2 separate regions of the Homo sapiens genome follow, and region 1 is linked to region 2. The links are contacts of gene promoters, found by promoter capture Hi-C in human tissues and cell types (Jung and others, 2019). All regions are on one chromosome and are shown on one strand. The core of a region is centred on a gene start or on the middle of the fragment in contact, and the rest is flanking DNA. Distances in the headings are between cores, read along the strand shown. Region 1 holds the start of MMEL1 (membrane metalloendopeptidase like 1). Region 2 overlaps RER1 (retention in endoplasmic reticulum sorting receptor 1).

Region 1 (2,700 bases), core at 62-2,561, 230 kb after region 2:
GCTGTGCCCCTAGACACCCCTATCCCGCCACTGGCTGAAGCTGGACTTTGGAGCCATCTGCCTCCCTTGCCTGCGTCCACACCCCGCGCCAGTCCTCAGCCTCCAAGCCCATCTCAGTCGGACCCTTTCTCATTCCTGCCACTCGCTGCCTGTTCCAGGCCCCACCAATCACCTCCCCCTGAGGGGTCTGTCTCACCCACTGATCCCCACCACAGGGGCCCAGGGGCCTGTAACTAGAATCAGAGGCCGTCACTCCCTGGCCCCTGGTAGCCAAACCCTTGGAGGAAGAGCCGGGCCTTGCCCTGATGTCAGGACCCTCTTTGGCCCTCCTCCCCTCTCACTATGCCCTCCCCTTACCCTCAGGCAGGCCCACCAGGTTTCTCCCCCCACCCTCCCCACCCACCCAGGCAGGCCTCCCAGATTCCTGCCAAGCTCCCCTTCCCAGTGGGGCCTTCCTTGGCTCGGCCTCGGGTTCAACTCGGGGAGCCCCAGCCCCTCCCCTGCTCTGTGTCTCTCCAGGGACTCCCAGCTCCACCTCCACATCTCCTCGATACTTCTGCAGCCCCCTGGGAACGTCAGCTCCACGGGCAGGGGCACCCTCTGTGGGGGCCGCTTCACCTAGACTGGCACCCCCACCCCAGAGACCTCGGTCATTATCTGTTGGGTGAATGAATGAATGAATGATGAATGAATGGATCAATCATTTGGACAAGTCTGAGCTCAGCTTCCACGAACTTCTTTCTTTGGTCAGAATTAATGAATCTGCTCCTGCGTCCTGAATTCATTCTGTCCTGCAGGTATCCACAGACGGCTCCATGTGCCCCACGGCACACACAAAATAAACACCTTCAAATTGAGCCAAGTACCCGGGGCAGGTGTGGAGTGTCTGCTGAGGCGAAGGCACTGCGGCTCCCTGGGGACACTCGTGGCCTCTCCAGGTTACTACAGATGGGGGACAGCGGGTCCTTTGGGTAAGATAAACCGTATGCCAGAGGGGGCTGCCTGCCCTGGCACAGGCGAGACTGCACACAGGACGCCCTGCCCAGCCTCCTGAGAAAGGGGCTGAGCGCCTGGAGAGGGTTTCAAGGCCCAGGAGAGGGCCTGGAGAGGGTTTCAAGGCCCAGGAAAGCAGGCCGGGTACCTTCCTTCAGCACAACTCACCTTTGCTCACTCAGGAGTGGCTGCCGCCCACAGTCAGGCCCCTGGAGACTGGGTCCCAGTGGGTTGGAGTTGGGGTGAGCTGGGCCAAGTGGGTGGATTTCCAGGGACTGGGATGGGAGAGCAGTGGCTTGGGGCTGAGTTGAGGCTGCCTGAAGGCTTCTGGGCCTCCTTTGTGATGCAGGCATGGGCTCCCTGGAGGCGGTGACTCCTGCTCACAGTCAGGAGGTTCCACTGGGGGTGTGGCATGGGGGGAGGGGCTGAGGGCAGCTTCTTGGCACCCGGGCTGCCCTGCCTCATGGGTGCCCTTCTCAGGGCCTCTGGCCCCGCCTCCCAAGCCGCCCTCCTTCCTTGCTTCTGTCTCCTGACCTTTCAGTCCAAAGGGGCCCCAGGGGCTGCTGGGAGGAAGGTCAGGCCCTTGTCCTACTCCACACCCTCTGCTCTGCCCCTAACCACCCGGTGGGGGGTTACAAAGGCCCCACCCTGGGTGTTCTTTCTCTTCAATCTCCAAGGAGGATGGTGGGTTCTGGGGATCTTGCCAAGGTGCAAGGGGAAGGGGTGGTCCTGAAGGGGGTGGGCGCTGGCTGCCAGGAGGGTCCCACCCAGAGATACTAGCCTGGGTTTGGCTGCTTCCCTCTGCCCACAGAAAACTCATGAGGTTCAGACCTCAAGCTACAGAGGGTGGGCAGCCCTGGCCGGGGAGCTGGCAGAAGGGCTCTGTGGCTTCTGAAGGGTTCGCAGTGATCAGAGTGTGAGCCCTGCACCCAGCCCTGCTTGCGGACGGGGGTTCTGGGCAGAGCAGTCTCTGTCTGATTCTCCAGGCCTGATGAGGTTTCTAGCTTCTGTTTCAGAATCCCCAGAACGAGTCCTCCTGCCCAGGCCTTGGGCATGTGTCAGGGCATCTGGGCAGGGCTGGGCCACAGAGCTAGGGGTCCCACGGCAAACTGCTCCTCACGGCCGCCCCGGCCAGGTCTCCCACGCTGAGTGCTGTTGGAAGCTTTGTCTATGGCCCTTTAGGTTGGCCAGGCCCTGGGAGGAGAAAGGCTTCGAGCTGCAGCCAGGCTGGGATCAGATCCCAGACACCACCCTGAGCCCGGGAAGTCTCTCCCTGGGGCCCGCTGGCTGTCCTAGCAGCCCCCTGCCATCACGCCCAGCAACCAGCCCAGGAGCTGCAGTCTGGCCTCAGGCTGCCTGGGTTGCTGGCCCAAATGGAAACAATGTCAAGGCCAGCCAAGCAGGAAGCTGGGACCGCCCTTTCTGGGGAGCTGGGAGTGGGCCAGGGTCCAGCCTGGCTGGAGGCTCCTGCTATGGGGAGAGGCCAGAGCCTTTCCGAGCCCACCTGCCCGACAGCCCTGGTGCCAGCAGGCCCTTTCTGGATGTCACAGTGTTCTTGTCTCTAAGGTACAAATCCACAGAGGGAGAAACAGATGCAGGGGCCTGGCCTACTCTCAGCAGGGGCTCCCTGGACTCTGAACCGACTCCCCAAGGCTGGCCCTGTGCATGCTCCTCCTTCCCGAACCCCAGGCCTGTCCAGCCCAGCAG
Region 2 (2,700 bases), core at 76-2,575:
TCCTGAGCCCAGCCTGGCCCTGCCCTGGGCACGTCCAGGCCTGGACAGTGGAGCCGCTGGTGTCCCTCCGACCCTGCTGCATGATGCTCAGGACAAGGTTGCGCTCTGTGGCTGCCTCATTCCTTGGGTGAAGAGTCCATGCCTTGGGTGTCATGAATGACTCGGCGTCCAAAGGGTTTATGTAGCTTTTCCTGAGCTCTCCCTTGTGTGAGGCCAAAGCACAGTGCAGGTTGAGACGCCGAGTCAAGTAAGAGAGACAGTGACCGAAGGGGGTCTTGAGGGTTTCCTTCGTGTGTTTTCGGGCACCCCTAGGTCAGGTGATGTCGTCTCAGACTTCACCTGGGTGCTCCTTTACTTGCTGGTAAACACGGGGTTTCTAGGAGCAAACCTGTAAGATGGGAATTCTTCGTCGGTCTTTAGAGGAGGTTACATAATCTTATGTGCAGAGCAGGGCATGTTGAAAGCCTTGTCTGGGCTATTTTCTCCTCTGGGGACTGTAGAAGATACTTCCTTGTTTAAAGCACACACCTTAATTTATTTATTTATTTTTGTTTTTAAATTGGAACTGGGTCCATTCTCTGATGGAAAGAATGACCTAGAAATCTTGAATCAGGGACTTCAGGCAGGAGCAGGGGGCGGGAAGAGTGCAGCACCCACAGGTCAGTTTTATTGCGTTCGAAACCAAGCTCGTGCCTCATTTGGCGTCTCTTCAGGTGTGGCCCTGCAGCCGAGGATGGACACACAGACATCAGTTAGCCCTCACATCCGGCGTTCAGCCGAGGATGGACACACAGACATCAGTTAGCCCTCACATCCGGCGTTCAGCCAGGGATGGACACACAGACATCAGTTAGCCCTCACATCTGGCGTTCAGCCGTCTGACTGGAAAAGCTTTTAGGCAGAAAGACTTCTTGTTTGTATAAGAAAGTTAAAGCATTTATATTTTTATTTATTGTTTTGAGATGGGGTCTCACTCTGTCGCCCAGGCTGGAGTGCAGTGGCCTGATCTTGGCTCACTGCAACCTCCACCTCCTGGGTTCAAGTGATTCTCTTACTTCAGCTTCCCGAGCAGCTGGGATCACAGGCATGTGCCACCATGCCTGGCTAATTTTTGTATTTTTAGTAGAGACGAGGTTTCACCATGTTGGCCAGGCTGGTCTTGAACTCCTGACCTCAGGTGATCCACCCGCCTTGGCCTCCCAAAGTGCTGGGATTGCAGGCGTGAGCCACCACACCCGACAGAAATTTAAGGCTTTTGAAATTGAGAATGCGGTTCTGGCTTTTAACGGGATATGCTTAATCATTTTAAAAAATGAATTAGTTGCAAATAAGTGTGCTGCACTCAGGCATCTTGCCAAAATTCTCCCCACTTTTCATCTCTTGAGGAAGGCTTGGCATAAGCACACTTTTCTGGATTTCCCAGTTGTGGATTTCTTCTGGGCAAAGGTTTAACCCTCCTGGCAGAGTGTTTTTGGCAATGTGAATTGTCTGTTGGAGGAACATCAGCCAGCACGCCTCCAGTCACAGTTGAGAGTCTGTCTTCTGTTTCTGATGAAGCTGCTCCTGGGTGGGGCTCTGGGCCAGCATCGCTCAGGTGCCCGGGCCACCCGAGCCTGTGGTGTAGCTTGAGCATGTGCTTCTTGAGAAAAGCCTCCTTTTCTGCTGCGCTCCTTGTGGGGCGTCTGTGGCTTCAGGGATCACATGTGTCTAACTGGACCCTTGAAGAGCTTTGCTCATTTGGGCCCTTGCTTGTCCGCTTTGTCTCTGTTCCCACAGAGTATAATTTGAGATAAATTGTTACCATGGGATTTCACTGTATTTCCTTGTCCTTGCTATGAGTAAGTTTTGTGTTAAAACAAAGTTAGATCAGTTAACAAAGTTGAGAGTGAACCGGAGTGCAAACGTGAACTGGCTCAGGCTGATGGACGGTCAGAGTGCACCACTGACTCTCTTTCCTTCTCTTTCAGGGTTGGTACATTGTGACCTATGCCTTGGGGATCTACCATCTAAATCTTTTCATAGCTTTTCTTTCTCCCAAAGTGGATCCTTCCTTAATGGAAGACTCAGGTAGGGTAGCGGCTGTGCACTGGGCTGTGTGGGCAGGTTGGGCCTTTCTTTTCTGATGGGATTGCCCAGTGTTCTCTGGAAACACCCGAGACTCTTCTCTTGGGGTTGAAATGTACTTGTAATGTTGGGTGATCAGGATATGTTTGTAGAATGACTCTTCAAACCCTCCTGACAGCCACGAAGTGGGTGTTCATTCTGTTTTCCCACTTTGCAGATGAGGAAACTGAGGCATACAGGGTTAGGTAACGTGTTCGAGGTCACATGGCACCACAGACAGTAGGGGTCTGAGGTGGACAGTCCGACTCCAGCCCCCGTCCCACCCCAGTCAGTGGTCCCTCTCAGAATCAGCGGAGGCAGCCATGACGAGGTTACCTTTTCCCGTAGCCAGAGGGTTCCACAGGCAGCTCACTGTGGTGCACAGAGACCGCCGGGACTCTAATGCCAGCATCGGGTCGGGTCAGGCTTTGGGCGGCCTTCTCTGGTTTCTGAGGAGCTGTGAGCTGAAGTGTTCCTGGTGCTTCGTGCTCCACTATTGGAAGACTTACGCAGCTCCTGGGCCTGCCTGGGCCAGGTAGGGGCCCTGAGTTCATGCCTGACTGGCCAGCCCCAGGCGAGGAACAAACAACTGCATTC

What was found. The method cuts DNA at HindIII sites, captures the fragments that hold promoters and counts their contacts. A contact is called where the count stands out against the background at its distance.
Region 1: the fragment with the promoter of MMEL1 here is called in contact with a fragment that was not itself captured in region 2 in 2 of the 25 tissues and cell types used here (dorsolateral prefrontal cortex and lymphoblastoid cells).

Annotation. Positions count from the first base shown.
Region 1 is chr1:2,631,705-2,634,404 of GRCh38, forward strand. It overlaps MMEL1 (membrane metalloendopeptidase like 1), which reads right to left and starts at 1,312. Exons shown (of 24, transcript NM_033467.4): 1 at 1,162-1,312. MMEL1-AS1 (MMEL1 antisense RNA 1) reads left to right here. Exons shown (of 3, transcript NR_183343.1): 2 at 798-971. The HindIII fragment of the contact is 11,446 bases long and covers 1-2,700 here.
Region 2 is chr1:2,397,448-2,400,147 of GRCh38, forward strand. RER1 (retention in endoplasmic reticulum sorting receptor 1) reads left to right here. Exons shown (of 7, transcript NM_007033.5): 4 at 1,968-2,067. Among named protein-coding and RNA genes, the nearest start is that of RER1, 7.0 kb to the left of the region's middle. The HindIII fragment of the contact is 8,492 bases long and covers 1-2,700 here.